3 separate regions of the Homo sapiens genome follow, and regions 1 and 3 are each linked to region 2. The links are contacts of gene promoters, found by promoter capture Hi-C in blood cells and fetal thymus (Javierre and others, 2016). All regions are on one chromosome and are shown on one strand. Each heading gives the region's core, a stretch centred on a gene start or on the middle of the fragment in contact. The rest is flanking DNA. Distances are from core to core; before and after follow the strand shown. Region 1 overlaps SLMAP (sarcolemma associated protein). Region 2 holds the start of FLNB-AS1 (FLNB antisense RNA 1). Region 3 overlaps ACOX2 (acyl-CoA oxidase 2).

Region 1 (2,700 bases), core at 52-2,551, 280 kb after region 2:
ACATAATTTCAAGAAAATATTTTCTAATTTAGAATGCATTAAATATAAGTGATAAGATAGCAAGATATTTTAATTAAAGAAGCATTTTTTTTTTTTTTCCTAAGGCTCTACTTCAAAGTGCTGGCTATTCAACCAACTAATCTGAATAGGTATTTGGATGGTGAGGTAAAAGCTATTTTAAGGTCTGTTCTCATCTCACTTTAATAAGGTGAAAAAAATTGCCATATGTACTAAAAATAGTTCACTGTTCTGAAACTCAATGCCTGTTTGCCAAAACAATATTAATGATGCATATTCTATGCATTTTTTCCCCAAATATGGCATCTGCCGTGCACAAAATTCAGAATGGAAACCACGAGATATTTGAAATAACACCATCCTCTTACATGGTTAAAAAAGTCAAATGAATCCAGTTACTTTAATAAAATAGAATGTACTAAAATTAAGTATCTCAAACTTTTGTAACTCAATGTTTTAATTGGCCAAAAGGACTGTGAATCTAGTTTTAAATTTTATACTGGTATAGTCTAATGAAAGTTCTACTATGATAAACACATGCCACCAAATTTATTTGCCTAATTTCCCTATGTATAAAAGTGACTTGACAATATGGTGCTTTAAAACTCACTTTTCTTCTCTGACAACTGTAACAGAATTAACACAATAAACTACTTTGGGCAATTACTGGACTACTCATAAAATATAAGAAGATTCTACATTCACAAAAGTCATTAATTTTGTTTAAATCAAACTGAGATGCCAAAAATTAAGGAAATATTAAACATCATAAGAGATTTTAAAGGTACTGTAACCCCCAAAATAGAAGTGCAAGCATGTTTCACTTAAGTTGTATCACAAACGACTTACATTGTGTTTGATTAAAATTTGAGATCAAAGCTGAAATTAATGCTGGGAATGACAGAGATTGCAACAAATCTTTAATACCTAAAGAAACCTATATCAAGTACTAACATTCAAAAAACCATAAATATACATCCACTTAAAAAGACACATTCCAGTTACGATACCCTTCTTAAAACAGAAGTCTGATTATTTTATATATTATCTGATACTGTTACTGGCTTGCTATTTTGTGAGCTATAAGAAGTAAACTGATGGTTAAAATACTATAACCTTGAAAATATACACTAACCTTCATTATCCAAAAGAACTGTCAAAAAACATAGAAAAACAGAAAACAAACCTTTTGAAAGCTTTGTTTCTTCTACCGCTTTGGTTAGATGCCCTTCGACGATCAGCTTCTCTGCCAAGGAAAATAAACGTTACCATCCAAGCCCAAACTGAGCAGCATTTCCCTGAGCTGGGCAGTGTAACACATTCCATGACCAAATTTAAAGATGATAACATTACTCCTATGACCAAGCTTGAATAAAAACTTGAATCTGGAAGGGGAACTAAGAGAACTGGAACTATGACGGAGCAATCACGTTAATGCAGAAAACTAGGGGCAGGCAGACAATTTGCCTTTTATTTTCACCTTATTTTAAAAGCCTAGATATTTTTATAAAAAGGGCTCAGAAGAAATAAAGCAATCCTCTTTAGATCAAGGCTATTAAGTTAAAATAAAAGATTTATGAAAAGGTATTTATTCAAATGAAGAAGTAATAAAAATTAAGTTATATCGATAGTTTACTGTTCTCTGCTGACATAATTCAGCAGAGATGCCTATATAATGTATTTCAGTAAATGAATCATTTTAGAAAAGCTATTCAAAGAAATAAAAAAATTTTGTTTTGTTTTATGGGGGATTTTCTGTAAATGTATAATGCTACTTTTTTATAATTTAAAGTCATATTTTCATATTCCACGTTTCATTGAAGAGGATATATCTATTCTGTGTCCCCTTATTTACTCCTGTATGTCAGTTGGTCTCCTTCAATTTATTCATTTGTAATATATGTGAAGAAAATTTTCTATTCTCTTGCTTTACAACCAACTGCAACTTGGTCTACATCCACCACTCAACCATTGAAACTGCTCCAATATCATTATAGCCTCTAGTCTCCCAATGCCCATGGCTCCTTTTCTTAATTTTCATTTCTCATAGGCTCTTTGCAGTATGTGGCACTTTGTCTCTGACTTTTTAAAATCAGAAAGAGGGGCCGTGCGCAGTGGCTCACGCCTGTAATCCCAGCACTTTGGGAGGCCAAGGCGGGTGGATCACGAGGTCAGGAGACAGAGACCATCCTGGCTAACATGATGAAACCCTGTCTCTACTGGAAACACAAAAAATTAGCTGGGCATGGTGGCGGGTGCCTGTAGTCCCAGCTACTCGGGAGGCTGAGGCAGGAGAATGGTGTGAACCCAGGAGGCGGAGCTTGCAGTGAGCAGAGATGGCGCCACTGTATGACAGAGCGAGATTCCATCTCAAAAAAAAACAGAAAAAAAGAAAAAAAAACAGAAAGTAACAGATTTTGATTAAGATGTATAATGTAAGCTGTCCTACCTGTCCTCTGTCCTACTTCACTCCATTCCTAAAATTCACTTCCTACAACTTTTAGCCATTTCTTCTGATACTTACATTTATATTTCTAAATAATACATTGATTTTATTTTTCCATTTTAGATATTTATTGAGAATCTATTTTACACGGTTAAATTTTGCCATTTTCTACTACCATCCTCAAGAGTTGCATTTTGTCAATCTATAATCACTATTTTTTTTTTTTTGAGACAGTC
Region 2 (2,769 bases), core at 229-2,728:
AGGGTGGGCTTTTACCCCCAACACTCGCCCCAGATACTACACCTGCCACAAGAGTGGCCACTTCCTCAGGACTAAGCAGCAAAACCTAAAGGTCTGCCTGCCCAGACCACACTACACATTTGGGCTCAGGCAACGTCCCTGACACTTTAACCTCATTCCAAAGCCAGCTCAGGTCTGCAGGAAGGCAGGCAAAATTCCCTACACCTCATTTCTGGATTTCTGCACCACACAGCTCTCACTGTTTCTGCCAATGGTGAAAAGACCACCAATAAGCTGCTGCCCTTCTCTCCCCCAACCATTCCCAACTTTCAGGCCAAAGACCCGCAGGAGTTTCATTCTGTCCTGTCTGTACAGATCATTATTTTCCAGAAAAAGTGACCCATGAAGTTGGCTGGGGCGGGTGTGGAGTGTTATGTCATGGGACGGACCTTGGGATGAGGGCGTTAATCCATGGGCCCCTCTGAGATCACTTTAAACATTTTGGTAAGACTGCCCAGGCTGATGAAGGGCTGGAGCGTGTGTTAAAAACAAGGGCTAGTGTTGGTTAAAAGGGATCTTTGGCAAGTGGGAAACTGCTCGCCACTGCAGAATTTCTTCAGACCAAGGAAGGGACTGAAACGGACTTGGAAAACTAAAGCAAAACCATGACTGCCGGGATGGTCTCGTGTGGTGATTCTGCAAGAAATAATCACCAGAGCGAGGGGACAGGTACTTGAGAGACATGTGGGCCTGGCTGCCACTCTGCCCTCTGAGTTTCTGTAGGGTGCCCGGCTGCCACTCTGCCCTCTGAGAAGTGTAAGAAGGCCACAGAGCATGGGGGTGTTGGCGATGAGGAGCGGTAAAGCAGTGCTAGTGATCTAATAGCCAAATACATTAACACGGACACTGGAAGAGATTAAGCGGATTTTAAGTCATCTCCTTTGCCAAATGACAACCAAACTAGGTGTCCCCTTTTTCTCTGCCCATCTTCCCCTAGCCTTGTTTCATAAATGCTGAAGAGTGAACCAGCAGCTCAGGCTAGCCAGTTTTGTTTTTTTGAAATGTCAGTCTCATTGTGTTCCTGGTCTGTCTGCTGCAGTGGCTGGTCTGTTCCACCAAGAGTTCTGGTTTGCACCTAGTGTACTCAGGATCTTCTCAGCCCCCTGAACAAGCTTGCATTTCTTAAGATTCTCCAATATGTCCCTCAAGAGTCCAGTCTAGGACTTATTTCTGAAGGCATTTTACAACAGCAATATTTTAGGGATGGGGTTTCAGCCCCACAAACAGGCTGGAGGGCTTTGTATAAAATGAATTACAAACAAGCAACAAAAGCAACCACAAGAACTCTCTCCAGGATTTGAGAAAACTGTTTTAAGGCACTGTGACATGAAAAGGGCTGCCAGGGATGTGTTCCTCCCCCCACTTCACAGCCAGCACATAATCGCCCCTCTCCTTGACGACGTATGTGACGTTGTATTGCTGGTTGCCTACATGCTTCATGGAGACCTCCTCGCAGGGGGTGGTGGGCCCATGGACCCCGATCAGCAGCATGTTGGAGCCTAGGAGGCAAAAGGTGGTTACTCCACCCGGATGCATCAGGACAGGCACAGGAAGAAGAGGAAATATGAGAGCCAAAGGTAAGGTGCTTCCACGATAATGCTGGGGCCCCTAAGAGGTGGGAGAGCGTGGCAATTACAAGCAGAGGCTCATAGAGCCTGACGGTGTGGGTTCGAATCCCTGCCCTGCCACTTGCTACCTGGGTGACCTTGGACTGGAATCTCACCTCTCCCTAGCTCAGCTTCCCCATCTGTAAACAGGGAATGAGAACAGCACATACCTCACGAACTAGTTGTGAGGTTTAAGAGTTATGGGTGTCAAAACCTAGCACACAGTAAGGGCTATTCTAAGTGTTGGCTATGAGAATCTTCTTGTTTACTCTCACAAGCACCTTAAGGAAGGTACTTCCGAGAAGAGGAAACTGACTTTTGGAAAGAGATTTAATAACTTTCCAAGGTCACATGGCTAAATAAGTTTTAGAACAAACGAATGAATGAATGAAGTGGCGGTACTAGGTTTCCAGCCCAGGTGTACTGGATGCCAGAACCCAGGCAACCGACCCTTGAAACCCAAATAAATACCCAAGTTCAAAAGGCAAAAGAGAAGGAAATCATTTAAAAATATTAAGTGCAGGAGAACAGGGTCATGACGATGGTTACTTGCAAACGGCTGGCCTACATGGGGGTGGGCACTGCAGGAGACCTCAGCAGGGAAGGCCAGTGTACCCAGGGTGCCCAGCCTGCCCCTGCCCCACCCCACCCTTGAAAAGGCCCAGACACCTACCAGCTTTGCTGCAGTCCACCAGGAAGGAACTCTTCTGGCCCACAAAGGCCTTTGAGAGCCCTGCCCCCTTAGAGGTCACCTTGCTGGCGTCCGAGGATGCCTTGGGAATGGCGCTATAGCAGGTCTCTGTAGACGACCTGGTCACTGACTCCACCAGGATGGATGAGGTCTCGTTGGCTGAGCCAGGGCTAACTAGACGCTGGCCTAAGATACAGGAGGGAGGGGGACAGGCATGAATGGCCAGATCAAGAGGGGTCTCTCAGCCAGAGGACAGGCGAGTACCCTACACAGTAACCCCAGGAGAGCCCGCGCACCCCAACACAAAAGCCACCACACCTGTATCTCACACCCATAATGTCTTCTAAACCCCTAGGATCCCACCCCCATACAACTAGGATCTGGCTTTCTGGGCAAATGGATGAGTCTGGCCTTGGCTGACAAGGCCAAGGA
Region 3 (2,700 bases), core at 47-2,546, 340 kb before region 2:
AGGTGAGTCTGTCATCATGTGAACATCACAGAGTGTACTTACACAAGCCTAAATGGTATAGCCTATTGCTCGTACAGTCACACCTGCAAAGCATGTTGCTGTTCTGAATACTGCAGCCAATTCTAACATCAATCACTAAGCAATAGGAATTTTTCAGCTCTATCATAATGTCATGGGACCGCCATCATATACATGGTCCATCATTGACCAAAACATCATTATGCAGTGCATGACAGTACAAATGTTGGAGACCAGAGTGTGCTTGGCATATCCATCCAGAGAACACAGAAGAGGCCACAGGGGCAGGAATGGCATGACTGCGGTGGAAAATGACGGCAGAGGGCAGAGAGTTAAGGGAGTACAGTAGGGGGTGGGAAGAGACGGTAAGGTAGATCATTGCAAAGACTTAAGAGAATGCGAGGGTTTTGAGCATGGGATAGAATGGGAGGGTTTTGAGCATTGGATAGACACAACCTAAAAGAATCTGATGTGTATTTTTAAAGGCTTGCTCCAGCTGCCATATTAAGAACTAAGAGTGAAAAGCAGGGAGATCAGCTGGATCGCTAATGCAATCATCCAAGTGAGTGATGATAGTGGATTGGAGCAGTGACAGTGCTGGAGGTGGTGGGAATGGTTGAAGTTTGAATATATCTTGAAGGCAGAACAGGATTTGCTGACAGATTAGATGTATGGTGAGAAAGAAGAGAAGAATCAAGGTTTTTGGTCAGAAGGGCAGAGCTGCCATTTACTATAAATGCGGAAGACTACAGGAGGCCCAGGTTTGGGCAGGGTGGACGGGAAGGAGTTTGGGTTCAGATACATTACTTTTGAAGAGCCTATCAGAAATCCAAGTACAGATGTTGGTAAGCAGGGGACACTGGAGGGATAAGTTTGGAAGTCATTGGCGTATGGTTGATATTTAAAGCCTTGAGAAGAACATCACAAGGAGTGCATGAAGAGAAGAGGTCCAAGTACTCAGTCTTGAGACCCTCGCAAGATAATAAGGAAGTAACCGTGGCAAGAGCTATTTCTGTGGAGTGGTGGGAGTAAAAACATGAACAGATCCAGTTCAGGAGAGAATGTGAAAATTGGAAATCATAAGCATAAACACACATAACACTTTCAGGGAGTTTTGTCCTAAACGGGAGCCAAGGTGATGGAGAAGGAAATAGAGTCAAAAGCTTGTGTTTAAGATGGGAGAAATGATTGTCTGTTTGTATACTGATGGAAATGATCCAGTAGAGAGGGGATTTTTTTTTCTTGTACCTTTCTTTGAACTTGATCTTGGCCTCCCATCACGCCTTGTGTTTAAGAGCAAGGTCTTTGAGGAGATCCTTGTTGATGACAGTTTGTCCAAGAGGATATCTACAGAGTACCTTGTGGGCATGAGGTGATTGCAGTTATAAGCTTTTGCAAAAGACTTGATCCTTGACCTCTTGGAGATCTTCTTGCCTATGGCAGCTGTCACTTTGTGAGGATAGCAGTCAATTCCAGCTACCAAAGCATGACTGTAAGAATGGACTGAGGTGCCATCATCAATGTCCTTCATGATAATGGCTTTGCGTCCAGAGTAGCATCCAGCCAGGACCAGCACCACTTTCCCACTTTTTCATGAACTTGCCCATTTTGACAGCAACCAGCCAGGCCTACAGTAAAAAGAAAGAAGGGCATTTCCACTAACTTTTTACCCCTGAGGGGAATTTTGATGTTGTTGGAGAAAGGCAGGAGAATGTTGTTCTCCAGTATGCAAGAGGAAAAGACATCTAGTAGACAAGGAGGGACTGAGGCCTGAGCTGAGAGCCTGAAGAGAGAAAGCATTGTATGTATAAATGCAAGGGTGGGAACTTACACAGATTCTCTTACTGCTTCCACTTCATTAGTGAAATACGATGTAAAGCCATCCAGGCAAAAGAGATGGGAAAGGTGGATAGTGTCAATCTGAGGATCAAAGAGATGGTAAGAAATAACTGCCTAAGAAAAAGAAACAGTAAATGAACAATGAGTAAATATAGCAATGTAATACGATTGCTGAGCTGCAATCAGGGCCCACTTGAGCCCTTATTACACCAGTTATGATTGTTTTTTCCAGCCATGTATAGTTACAAAGGTGGTGGCACAAAGTGGGTGGAAAACTAAAGACAAAGAGGTATGCGTTTTGCTAAACAGGTATGACAAAGCAAGAAAAATCGTTGAGTGTGTGTGTGTGTGTGTGTGTGTGTGTGTGTATATATATATATATATATATATATATATATATATATATATATATATTTTTTTTTTTTTTTTTTTTTTTTTTTTTTTTGAGCGGGAGTCTTGCTCTGTTGCCCAAGCTGGAGTGCAGCGGCACGATCTCAGCTCACTGCAACCTCTGACTCCCAGGTTCAAGCGATTCTCCCACCTCAGCCTTCCCAGTAGCTGAGACTACAGGCACACACCACCACACCTGGCTAATTTTTGTATTTTTAGTAGAGACAGGGTTCCGCCATGTTGGCCAGGCTGGTCTCGAACTCCTGACCTCAGCTGATCCATCTGCCTCGGTCTCCCAAATTGCTGGGATTACAGGTGTGAGCCATCGCGCCCGGCCTGTTGAATGTATTTTTGAGAGAGTAATAGAACATGGAATTTCAGCTGGATAAGGAATGAAGTGAGACCACAAGGGGGCAGGGGGACATTAAATTGGCGGTAGGGCTCATATGATGT

Evidence for each region. Contacts are between HindIII fragments. The CHiCAGO score rates a contact against its expected background, and 5 or more counts as called.
Region 1: a contact is called between a fragment that was not itself captured here and the fragment with the promoter of FLNB-AS1 in region 2, in 2 of 17 cell types (M1 macrophages and megakaryocytes). The highest score is 7.4, in M1 macrophages.
Region 3: a contact is called between a fragment that was not itself captured here and the fragment with the promoter of FLNB-AS1 in region 2, in 1 of 17 cell types (naive B cells). The highest score is 5.7, in naive B cells.

Annotation. Positions count from the first base shown.
Region 1 is chr3:57,888,605-57,891,304 of GRCh38, reverse strand. SLMAP (sarcolemma associated protein) reads right to left here. Exons shown (of 25, transcript NM_001377540.1): 15 at 1,205-1,264. Among named protein-coding and RNA genes, the nearest start is that of FLNB, 120 kb to the left of the region's middle. The HindIII fragment of the contact is 170 bases long and covers 1,217-1,386 here.
Region 2 is chr3:58,169,344-58,172,112 of GRCh38, reverse strand. It overlaps FLNB-AS1 (FLNB antisense RNA 1), which reads left to right and starts at 1,478. Exons shown (of 2, transcript NR_135534.1): 1 at 1,478-1,616. It overlaps FLNB (filamin B), which reads right to left. Exons shown (of 46, transcript NM_001457.4): 45 at 2,320-2,523; 46 at 1-1,538. The coding sequence ends at 1,351. LOC124909485 reads right to left here and starts at 336. Exons shown (of 6, transcript XM_047449435.1): 1 at 240-336; 2 at 1-42. The coding sequence starts at 336. The HindIII fragment of the contact is 5,353 bases long and covers 1,154-2,769 here.
Region 3 is chr3:58,510,235-58,512,934 of GRCh38, reverse strand. All of the region lies in intron 13 of ACOX2 (acyl-CoA oxidase 2), which reads left to right. It also overlaps the pseudogene RPL27P9. Among named protein-coding and RNA genes, the nearest start is that of KCTD6, 19 kb to the right of the region's middle. The HindIII fragment of the contact is 226 bases long and covers 1,184-1,409 here.